3 separate regions of the Homo sapiens genome follow, and all the other regions are linked to region 3. Evidence: promoter capture Hi-C in human tissues and cell types (Jung and others, 2019). All regions are on one chromosome and are shown on one strand. Each heading gives the region's core, a stretch centred on a gene start or on the middle of the fragment in contact. The rest is flanking DNA. Distances are from core to core; before and after follow the strand shown.

What was found. Contacts are between HindIII fragments. The study calls those that stand out against the background at their distance.
Region 1: the fragment with the promoter of LTBP3 here is called in contact with the fragment with the promoter of CAPN1 in region 3 in 2 of the 25 tissues and cell types used here (mesendoderm cells and spleen).
Region 2: the fragment with the promoter of ATG2A here is called in contact with the fragment with the promoter of CAPN1 in region 3 in 1 of the 25 tissues and cell types used here (mesenchymal stem cells).

The regions. Positions count from the first base shown.
Region 1 is chr11:65,555,718-65,559,722 of GRCh38, forward strand. LTBP3 (latent transforming growth factor beta binding protein 3) reads right to left here and starts at 2,642. Exons shown (of 28, transcript NM_001130144.3): 1 at 1,912-2,642. The coding sequence starts at 2,242. RefSeq lists silencers at 2,471-2,710, 2,761-2,920. The HindIII fragment of the contact is 15,125 bases long and covers 1-4,005 here.
Region 2 is chr11:64,915,738-64,919,400 of GRCh38, forward strand. ATG2A (autophagy related 2A) reads right to left here and starts at 1,472. Exons shown (of 41, transcript NM_015104.3): 1 at 1,228-1,472. The coding sequence starts at 1,398. It also overlaps a transcript of PPP2R5B not described here. RefSeq lists a silencer at 1,384-1,693 and an enhancer at 1,744-1,873. The HindIII fragment of the contact is 28,686 bases long and covers 1-3,663 here.
Region 3 is chr11:65,179,462-65,183,177 of GRCh38, forward strand. CAPN1 (calpain 1) reads left to right here and starts at 2,467. Exons shown (of 22, transcript NM_005186.4): 1 at 2,467-2,552; 2 at 3,240-3,507; 3 at 3,667-3,716. The coding sequence starts at 3,241. CAPN1-AS1 (CAPN1 antisense RNA 1) reads right to left here and starts at 2,373. Exons shown (of 2, transcript NR_145677.1): 1 at 1,764-2,373; 2 at 410-1,611. RefSeq lists silencers at 1,786-2,235, 2,837-3,131 and enhancers at 2,154-2,943, 2,944-3,716. The HindIII fragment of the contact is 8,891 bases long and covers 41-3,716 here.

The DNA.
Region 1 (4,005 bases), core at 1,392-3,891, 380 kb after region 3:
AACCTGTGCTACTACCAGCCTTGGGGCTCTGACTCATCCCAAAGCCCCAGCCCTTCTCCTGCCCACCCCATGGCTGCCCTCACTTCCCAGGGCAGGAGGGCAGGAGGGCGGGGGTGCTGCTCTCCTGGATGCCAGAAGGGCCTCACAGGGACAGCCCATATCCATGGCCCTCAGGGTCAGGCTAAGCACATCCCAGCCCAGCCCATCCTGCCTGGCCTCTTGGGGCCAGGCCTCACAGAGCAGAGGGGTGTGTCCTGGGCGGGGGGAGGTAGGATTCTCTTTTTCCTTTCTGCCAGTGAGTCACTCATAGCGGTGAGAGTGACCTCCCAATGACACCCGCCCACTGTGGCCTGGGCACCGAGCCTGGGGGATGTGGGCAGCACAGATGGAGACAGCAGCCTGGGCAGGATGGCCAGGGAGCCTGGGAGATGGACACACGTACACTCACACCCACAGTCCTCTTGTCACACACACACAGAGACTCATCCTGACACCAACACAGGTTCACATAAACATTCCCATACATTTGGCCGGGCGCAGTGGCTCACACCTGTAATCCCAGCACTTTGGGAGGCCGAGGCAGGTAGATCACTCGAGATCAGGAGTTTGAGACCAGGCTGACCAACATGGTGAAACTCCATCTCTACTAAATACAAAAAAATTGGCCAGGCGTGGTGGCGCATGCCTGTAATCCCAGCTACTTGGGAGGCTGAGGCAGGAGAATCACTTGAACCCAGAAGGGGGAGGTTGCAGTGAGCTGAGATTGCGCCATTGCACTCCAGCCTGGGTAACAAGAGCAAAACTCCATCTCAAAAACACAAAAACAAAAACATTCCCACATACTCTCTAACAGCGACTAGAGACACACACCCAAGACAACACAAAGACGGGTACTTCACAGTGTGCCACGCCATGCCCATGGCATGACCCCAGACACAGGGGCAATATGCGCACAGACACACGCACGCACACCCCATCTCATGACAAATTTGAGCCACATGAGTGGGGTTCCTTAGCTCTGTGAGTGGGAGAGTGAATATAGGAATGTGTAAGAGGGGCTGTTTTGCTGGTGCCATCCTGGGCCTGGCCTAATTACCCTGTCCAGGAGGGTAATTACTGCTGGGACACCTCCCCGAGCCTGGCCCACGGGGCCTAGCAGGAGGATGACTGAGCCCCAGGCCTGGCCCTTTAAAGAGAGATGCTGGGGAGGGGGTGGACTCCAAGCTGAACTGGGGAGGGTGTAGGGGCTTGGGGGAGGATGAGGGGGGCCCTGAGGGCCTCTGAGGCAGGATGTTAGGAGCTTATGGGGAGGCATTGGAAAAGGAGAGGCTGAGAACCCCGAACTAGTCCCTACCTTCAGGCCTGCACCCTACTTTTAGGCCTCAACACCCTCCCTACTCAGACCTTGCCAGTAGCCGGCTCCCATCCCCAGCCCTGACCTTAGCTCCTCCTCCCAGGGAATGCAGGTGTCTACTCTGGCAGGCCCTACTTTAGACATTTTGTAAAGACTTTTCTTGTTTCTTCCAGCAAGTCTGCTTCTTGCGGGAATATTTAGCCCTTCTCTGAGGCTTCCTGTCCCCGGCTCACATTCCTCAAAAACCCTGTGTGCTCCTGCTCAGAACTCAGCACCTTCTGGGAAGCCAGTGTCATCCAGGACCTCTGCATTTCCCCACCCCTTAGGCCCCAACCCTAACGCAAAGCTTCAAAGTCCAGGCCTCCATGCAGCCCTCCAACTCTGGCCCCCAGAGTTCCAGCCTCCCAAGTTCCCTGAGGCCCCTGGTCCCCCAGGCCCTCGGATCTCTGCCCTTTATACCCTCAGCCCCCAGTCTCTAAGGCCAAGACCCCACTAGCTCTCCCACCGGGCCTGGTGCCTGTCCTTCCCCTGCCCCCAGCCGTGCCCCCGGCCCTCACCCACGCGGAAGCCGGAGCCCGTGAGCGTGTCTGTGCTGTGGCCGTTCTCTCCGATGAGCGTCATGTTGGAGCCCTGCTGACAACTGTCCCGACACTGGCCCTTGAGACAGGTCCGCTTGCAGATCACCGGCGCAAAGACCACCTTGAAGCGCTCGCGGGCCAGCGCCCCGCCCCCGCCTGCGCCCCGCTCGCCGGCCGGCCCCCCCTCGACCCTGCCGCCCAGGCCCAGCAGCAGCAGCAGCAGCAGCAGCAGCAGCGCCAGCAGCCCCGCCGCCCCCGCCCCGCGCATCTCAGGGGCCAGGCCGCCAGCAGCCCCTCGGGGCCCGGGCATCCGGGGCCGCAGGACCCGGGGGAGGGGGGGCGCGCCCGGGCGGGGCGAGGGGCCCGCGCCCGAAGGGAGTAGAGGGCCGGGAGCCCCGGGAGAGGGTAGGGGGCAGCGAGGGAGGGCAGCGGGGGAAGCGGGCGGGAGGGGACCGCGGGGGCCCGGCGGGAGGCGCGGAGATGCAGACTGGACAGCGGGGAGCGCAGAAACTTCCCAGCCCCAGGACGAAGCCCAGACCAGGCCCCGAACTCAGGCAGGAGCGAGGAGGCCGGAGCAAGTTGAGGCGGAGAGGAGGAGCGAGGGAGAGGAAGGCCGGGCGGCCGGCCCGCTCCGCGCCTCCCCCTGGCCGGGCTCCTCTCCCGCGGCCGCGGGGAGGCAGGGAGCGCGCGGGGAGGGCTCAGGGAGAAGTGAGCAGTTGTTTTCCCTGGCTGGAGCGCGGCGCGGCGGCGGCGAGGGGGGCTGGGACGCTGGCCCCGGGCCAGGGACACAGTTTTTTTTTTTTTGTTGTTTAAAGCGTCGCCTCTGCCGCCTGGAGAAGCGAGGGTGTGCAGGCTGGCGGAGGCTGGGGGGTGGCGCGGGGACAGTCCCCACCCCAGATGCCCGCCCCCGCCGGAACCCGCGGCCGCGCTGGGCCCTTTCCAGAGGGCCCTCACCTGGGACCGTCTGGCCGGCCGCGGATTCCTCCGGGCGGGGCGGGGCGGGGAGGCCTGCGTAGAGCGAGATACCGAGGCTGAGGGAGAGAGGTGGCCCTGCCGGGTCACACTGACGATGGAGGCCGGGTGGAGCCGGAGCCCAGGCCTTCCAGCTCTTTCCCAGCCTCCCTTGCAAACGTGGGGGTCTCAGGGCCCCAAAGTAACTTCTCGTTAGTGCTGGTCCAATCCCCTCTGAGGAAAGGGCTAAAGGGTGGGGACAGCCTTTGGCCAGGGCTCACGGAGGTCCCAGGAGGAAGTCTGTGGGGTCCAGAAGAGGAGCAGAAAGAACAAAGCTAGAACCCAGCTTCCCTGCCAGCCCCCTCGGAATGGCTTCCTGGTGCCCACCCTGCCACCTCCCCCCTTTCCTTTCGTCTGGCCGTGCTGGCGGGGCTGGCTCTGGGCCTCAGACACTCTGGAATCGCCAAGGTCTGAGCTCAGGGCCTGGCCCCCTTCCCAGGCTAACAGCCGGGAGGACGGGGGCGCTGTCCGAGGGCCCAGGGGCTGGAGAGGGGCACAGCAGAGCCCCAGGGCAGGGGCTGGCAGCGGCTGGGGGTGGGGGTCTTCAGGTTGGCCATGGCTGGAGAGGAGCATAGTTCCAGACCAGGCTTGTCCGCTGGTCTGGAAGGAAAGGCTGCAACGTGCGGGGGCCCAGGCCTTACTGTGGGGCCTGCCAGGAGACCCCAGGGTTCCGTCTCTGACTCACAGAACTCAGCAGGAGGTGGGGACGGCTAGGGCACATCCAGGAAAAGCGCTGCCAAGTCAGGGCGGCACCAGACCCTCTCCCGGACAGCACCCGGGGCAGCAGTCTAATTGGGGAGAGGAGGTTCAGGGACTCACTTTCAGGCACACCTGTCCAAGGAACTCTGTTTTTACTTTGAGCGTAAGTTGATGTGGGTAGCTTTAGGGGGACGCTTAGTAAGTCCCCCTTACTAAGCGGTGCAGGGCTGGGAGGGACAATCACATGTCCCCAGGGATCCCTGCTGCCGGAATCCAGGATGGGGTGTGAGGGGCAAGCCCCTGCTTCTTGGGGCCCTGGTCCACACGGAGGCAGGGAATAATGCTAGGTGCCGACCACCTGCC
Region 2 (3,663 bases), core at 222-2,721, 260 kb before region 3:
GGAGGCTGAGGTGGGAGGATCCCTTCAGGGGTTCAAGGCTAGCCTGGGCAACATAGCGAAATCCTGTCTCTATAAAAATAAAAAAGGGGCAGCCTAGAGACGGCCTTAGAGGCTGAGGCTAAGGTTAGAGGTCAGAGAGGGCTTCCTACACCAGAATTCACAGACAGCAGGCCACTGGGGGGTGCCCCCAGTTCAGGGCCCACGATTATCCTACCCCACATTTGCTCACCAGGGCCTGGCCTACCCCCAAAGCCTAGCTCTTCTGCCCAGATTAGCAGCCCCCTGAGTCCAGCCACAAAACTGAGAAGTCCCTGCCTCCATGCCCACCCCTGCTGCTCTGGACCTGGTGGATCGACCAGGACGCGCCTCTAATTGGTGGCTCCTTCAAAGCTCCCCAGGTCAGCTGAGCTGTGAGTCAGGGCTCCTCACCGTTCCCAGCCTCAAGCCTCTGACCTTACACCTCTTGGCCTCCCTAGCATCTCCCTTGGCCTCCTCCCGGCTTGAAGCCAGATCTCCCCACCTTTCCTCCAGGGCCTCCCTCCAGGCAGGGACACTGAGCCGGGGGGGTCGGTGGGAGATGTAGGTGGGGGCCATCCAGTCCCTCCCTAGACACCCACTTGGCCCATCCCACTCTCCCAAAAGCAGGAAGTAGGCAGCGACCCAGGCACACGAGGTGTTGATCAACACTGGTACTGACGTACTGACGCGGTTGTTGACATACACATCCGGTGGTTTGTTGATCCCACCTACGGGCTCAGGACCGTGGGGTCAAGAGGTCAGGGCACATGATCCACAGGTGTCCTCGCCAGGGCTCCGGACCCCTACCAGCTTCCCCCACCAGCTGCGCAGGCCCAAGTCTGTCACTGCCCTGGCCCAGCTCAGTTCCTACGCTCCCTCCCCAGCCCCTCCTCAGCCCGAGAGCCAACCTCCTTAACTCAGCCCCCAAACTCGACGAGTTTGTCTTGCATTCTCCAGACAGGTGATCTTGCCCTCTCCAGCCTCAGTTTCTCCTCCCGTGGAGACAGAAACCCCTTCCCGCTCAGTTTCTGGCTCTGGTAAGGAACTGAAGAGGCCAGCCGGGGTGCCTCTGACGCCTGGAGAGGGCAAGATTCCCCTGGCCTCTCTACGCCCGGTGCCTGATCCCCCAGCCCGATCCTGCCGCAGGGAGCCTCAGGTCGCTGCGCTCCCACCCTCCGCACCTTCCTGGACTCGGGCCTGGCTCCTCACCCAGATTTCCAGGTGGATGTCTCGCAGGGCAACGCTGCCCTTGTACAGATCGAGGCTGAGCTGGTCCAGGCTGAGGTGCTCTTGGAAGAAGTGACCTAAGTAGTGGTGCAGCAAGTAGCGGCAGACCCGCTCTTTCACACAGTTTGACCATGGCCACAGCCATCGTGACATCTCGGAGACCGCCGGGCCTGGGCCGCCTCCGCTTGCCGCCCGCCGGCGATCCCCGTCCGGCTCCGCTGTTCACTAGAGCCCCCGGCTCGCCCCGCCGCTTCTCTAGGCGCCAGGCCGCGCCTCCGGACGCCCAGCCACGCCCCCTACGCTCACTGTCATTGGCTATTGCAAAGGGCGAGGCCTACTGATTGGCTGCGCGGGGCGGAGCCTTCGGGCGCGAAAAAGGGACTGGGCTCTCTGCATGATATAGGGCTCTCAATCATGATTTACGCTTGCGTAAAGTACTGTGTGGGAGGACCTTTAACCTCCCCTCTACAGGCTCTGGGAAGGCTGTTGCTCCAGGTGCCGGCCCCTCAAAGGAATGCGCATGTGCTGATTCGTCCAACCACTTTAAGTGGTTGGGGAGGATTTAAAGGGACAGTGTCCCATCAAACTTCGTAGAAGCCTTCCCCAGAGGAGTAAACTCAGTGCGCGATCTTAAGCGCGCATCTGTGGAAACAATTAAGTGAGTAAACATTCGCATTTTGCAAAATCTTTTACCATCCTTTATCTCATTGAGCCCTCTTAATAATCGCTCAAGGTAGGGATTATTGCCACCGCTTTACAGGTAAGAAAACAGATTAAGATACGAGAAAGACCCTGCCTCAAAAACAAACAAAAATAAATAAGGGCTCTGAATCCATCACCAAGGAAGGTCTTTTTTCCCCTCCTCACCCCGGAATGCTCAGAGGGAGATTAACTGACCCTCCCTTCTCTCTGCCGTCGGTCAGGCCTTAGGCACCTCTCTGAAATAATAATAGCTTTTCATATCTCTAGTCCTAAAATCAAAGAATGGATTCTGCCTCCTTTAAGCAGGGGGGCATTGTTTTTGTACGGCCTTTGAGCTAAGTATGGTTTTTATGTCTTTTAAATGGTTAGGGGAAAAATCAAAAGAAGAATGAACTTTTCATGGCATGTGAAAAATCATATGAAATTCACATTCCAGTGTTTATACATAACGTTTTAGTGTCACACAGTCTTGCTCATTTGCTTAAGTTCTGCCCCGGGCTGCTTTCTTGCTACAAGAGCAGAATTCAGTACTTGAGACAGAGGCCTGCAAAGCCTAAAATATTTATTTTCTGGCCCTTCACAGAAAAAGTTTGCCAACCGCTGCTCTGTAGGGGGCAGCCACACAAAACCTCTTACATCATGGGCGACTTCAGGAACAGCCATAGGTAATTATGTTTCTTTTCTTTTCTTTTTGAGACAGACTCTCTCTGTCACCTAGGCTGGAGTGCAGTGGCACAATCTTGGCTCACTGCAACCTCTGCCTCCTGGGTTCAAATGATTCTGCTGCCTTGGCCTCCCAGAGTAGCTGGGATTACAGGCATGCACCACCGCACCCAGCTAATTACCGTGTTGGGCAGGCTGGTCTCGAACTCCTGACCTTAGGTGATCAGCCTGCCTTGGCCTCCCAAAGTGTTGGGATTACAGGCACGAGCCACCGTGCCCGGCCTATGTTTCTATTTTATTTATTTTTTTTGAGACAGAGTCTTGCTCTGTTGCCCAGGCTGGAGTGCAGTGGTGCAGTCTCCTCTCACGCAACCTCTGGCTCCTGGGTTCAAGGAATTCCTGAGTAGCTGGGATTACAGGTGTGAGCTACCCCACCTAGCCTGTGTTTCTATTTTAATCTTACTTGGGAGCTGGACTCTTACATTCTAATGCCAAAACTCAGCCTGAAGCAAGGGCAACCGCCCTGGCCCACCGGGCAGGGACCTGTATTCCAGTCCCACCCATGGGTGGTTTCTTCTCCTCTTGTGACCCTCAGTTTTATCCTATGTAACTGGGGTTGGGTTAGTAAGTGGAGATAGTTCATTACCTGGAAGGAGCAGGCTCCATTCAGGGAGGCAGGCTGATAGGACAGCCATTCAGAAAGTGCTTATGGGCCAGGCACGGTGGCTCATGCCTGTAATCCCAGCACTTTGGGAGGCCAAGGCGGGTGGATCATGAGGTCAGGAAATCGAGACCACCCTGGCTAACACAGTGAAACCCCATCTCTACTAAAAAATATTTAAAAAATTAGCAGAGTGTGATGGCGGGCGCCTGTAGTCCCAGCTACTCGGGAGGCTGAGGCAGGAGAATGGTGTGAACCTGGGAGGCGGAGCTTGTGGTGAGCCAAGTTTGTGCCACTGCACTCCAGCCTGGCTGACAGAGCGAGATTCTGTCTCAAAAAAAAAAAAAGAAGAAACTGCTTGTGGAAGGAATCTAGAGCTCTGCCTTCTTCCA
Region 3 (3,716 bases), core at 1,217-3,716:
CTAAGAGTAATGCACTCAGTGTTTTTTAATGTGCCTATTTGCCATCCAGAGATCTTTTTGGATGAAGTGTCTGTTCAAATGTTTTGTCCATTTTTTGACAGGCGCGGTGGCTCACCCTGTAATCCCAGCACCTTGGGAGGCAGAGGCGTGCAGATCACTTGAGGTCAGGAGTTTGAGACCAGCTTGGCTAACATGGTGAAACCCTGTCTCTACTAAAAATACAAAAATTAGCCTGGTGTGGTGGCGGGCGCCTGTAATCCCAGCTACTGGGGAGGCTGAGGCAGGAGAATTGCTTGAACCCAGGAGGTGGAGGTTGCAGTGAGCCAGGATCGCGCCACTGCATTCCAACCTGGGTGATGGAGCGGGACTCCATCTCAAAAACAAAAACAAACACCAGAAAACAAACAAATGTTTTGTCCATTTTTATTGGATTTTTATTCAATTGTAAAAGTTCTTTATACAAGTCCTACATCAGATAGAATTTTTACAAATATTCGTCCTAGTCTATGGCTTATCTTTTCATTTTTAATAGTTTCGTGCATTTTGAGAAACAAAAGCGTTTTATTTTGATGAAGTTCAATTTATTGATTTCTTCTATCATTTACACTTTTTGTGTCATATTTAAGAAATCTGGCCAGGTGCCAAAGCTCACACCTGTAATCCCAGCACTTTGGGAGGCTCAGGCAGGAGGACTGCTTGAGCCCAGGAGTTCATGACCAGCCTGAGTAACACAGCAGGACCCCATTTCTACAAAAAATTTAAAAATTAGCTGTGTGTCGTGGCACGTGCCTGTAGTCTCAGCTACTCAGGAGGCTGAGGTGAGAGGATCTCTTGAGCCCAGGAGTTTAAAGTTACAGTGAGCTGTGATCAGGGCACTGCACTCCTGCCTGGTCAATGAAAGCAAGACCCTGCCTTTAGAAAAGAAAAAAGAAATCTTTTCAAACCCAATATTGTTAAGATTGTCTCCATTTTTAAAAAAAAAAGTTTTATGGTTTGGCCATTTATATTTAGGTGTGTAATCCAGTTTGAGTTAAATTTTGATGGTGTATCCTAAATAGTTATCAAATCCATCTACTTCTGCCTGCCACCTCTCTAGTTTAAACCACCCTTCTCTGTCCCTGGACACCTGCGCAGAAAGCCTAGGAGCTGGTTCCACCCATCACTCACCAGGTTAGGTATTTCAGGCAAGTCACACCCTCTCAGGCCTCAGTTTTCCTCTTTTGTTAACTGAGGGTGAAAGTGGGGTTAGATTAGATCAGCGGCTCTTAACTTTTGAGGGGTCGTGGGCCCTAGAGTCCTGGGAACGCTATGCAGTTTCCTCAGCAAAATGCTTGCATCCACAACATGCAAGACTGCAGCAGCTGCTGGGCTGGGGCTGCGAGACCAGCGAAAAGCCCTGACTTGGGGGGGTCTCGGGAGTCTCTGCAGTCTCCCCACCCACACCCCCGGCCTCCGCGCCGAATCCTGGCCCCCCAACTTCTTGCAGCCCGTGAAGCAGGATCTCAGGGTCCTGGGGGTGGGGAGAGGGGGCTGCCGTCCTGCTCGCAGCCTCTGCCGCCCTCTCCTGGGTAAGGTGACACATGGGCGCTTCCAGGTGGGTGGGCTGAGAGCCTGGGGGAGAGAACAGGGATGTCCACCTCTCTAAGTTTCCAGGTTCAAGAAACCCCAGAACGTTAGAGAAAGATGGGCTCCCACAATTGCCCAACCCCATCCCATAGGATGCACGCATGCGGAAAGTCGGGCCGAACGGGGCAGGGACTTACCCAAGGTCACGCAGCGAGCCCGGTCCCCCTGCGTTCCCCGGGGAGCGCTGAGCCGGGACGCGGCGGTGGGGTGGGGAAGGGGAGTGGCGCGGCCCTGCGGGGTGAGGCTGCCGTTTGCTGAGTGTCCGGCAGGGGTCTGCTCGCTGCCAGCCCGGCCCCTCCTCAGAGCAGCTGCCGCAGCCCGAGGTAATCTCGGCCCCGCGCCGGGGCTGGCTGGGAACGGCGGGAGCAGCTGCGGTCGCGCGGAGCGAGGGGAGCTGGGGACCGGGCGGGCCCGGGGCTGCGGGAGGCGGCGCCGCCGCACAATCGCCCCGGAATGCCCGCCAGGGCGCGCGTGGGGTGCGGCCGTCCGGCCCTGCAACTCGAGCTGCTGCCCCTGGTTAAAAATACCCCCTGCCCGGCCCTCCCCCTCCGTTCCCCGCGGTGCCCTTCCGCCGCGCCCCAGCCCCCCCATCCCCCCCCGCGCTGGCCCCTCCCCGGGGACTGCTCTGCCTTTTACTAATTTGTCCTCTCGCGGAATTGGCCCCCGGCCTGCGGAGGGAGGGGCGGGGAGACACCGTGAGTAAGAGATAGTCAGAGACCGTGCCGGAGAGATAAGGGAGAGCCGAGAGGAAGCGGGGTAGGAGCCCCAGGAGGAGGAGGAGGAGAAGGAGAGAGGGAGGGCGGAGGGCGGAGGGGCGGCGGGAGGAGGGCGGGGAGGAGCGCTCTTCCTGGTTGGGCCCTGCCCTGAGCTGCCACCGGGAAGCCAGCCTCAGGGACTGCAGCGACCCCCAAACACCCCTCCCCCAGGTAAGAAGCTGGGTAGCCGAGCCGGGATTCCTTGACCCTGGCCACTGCTCCTGGGCTGAGGGGCTGCCCCAGCACGGTCCCTTCTCGGGGGCCTCTGCGTTCCTGGAGCAGGGGTGGGGGCTGGCGGAGCGGCACAGCCCAGGCGCCTGTCCCAGCCTGGCTCACCGCTGTCCCCAGGGGCTGGGCTAGGGCCCACCAGCTCTGATATCGAGCCTGCTGCGGGGGCCTGAGGAGGGGGACCCCGACCGTCTGGGGTTTTCAGCCCACGGCAAGGGGCCGGTGCACCAGGAGCTTGGTTAGTTTGGGGAGGGGGTTGCAGGCCTGTGAACAGGATCAAAGAGGCCTTCCCTGCTGTGTCCCACCTGCCCAGTTCCTTGTGCTGTCTGGAGGCTCCGCCCTGCCCCACCTGACCTGCTGGCTCACTACAGAGCTGCAAGCCCCTGACAATGGGATCCGGGAAAGGAGAGGTGGCCGGCACGCCTGGGAACTGGGAAATCCCTTTCCTGGATTCACTGGGAGCACCGGGAGGTGGCTGAGAACCCTACTTCTGTGAGGGGAGCAGTGAGGCAGGGAAACCCTAGGTTTGGGGATGGATAAGCAGGGGCAGGAGAGCAGAGCTTGCAGGCAGGAGCCCAGGTTCTAGTCTTGGGAAGGCCTGGGTTCTGAGCAGGCCCATCTGTCCGGCAGGATGTCGGAGGAGATCATCACGCCGGTGTACTGCACTGGGGTGTCAGCCCAAGTGCAGAAGCAGCGGGCCAGGGAGCTGGGCCTGGGCCGCCATGAGAATGCCATCAAGTACCTGGGCCAGGATTATGAGCAGCTGCGGGTGCGATGCCTGCAGAGTGGGACCCTCTTCCGTGATGAGGCCTTCCCCCCGGTACCCCAGAGCCTGGGTTACAAGGACCTGGGTCCCAATTCCTCCAAGACCTATGGCATCAAGTGGAAGCGTCCCACGGTGAGAGGGGCCATCCTGGGTGGGACTCGGCTAAGCCAGATCCTGGATGAGGAGTAGGGATGGGACTCCATGTCCCTGGTGGGGAATGGGGTCTGGGGTGGCCTGGTGCCAATTTCTGGGAGGGGCTGGCCGAGGAACAGGACTCTGGGTCTCTCGTAGGAACTGCTGTCAAACCCCCAGTTCATTGTGGATGGAGCTACCCGCACAGA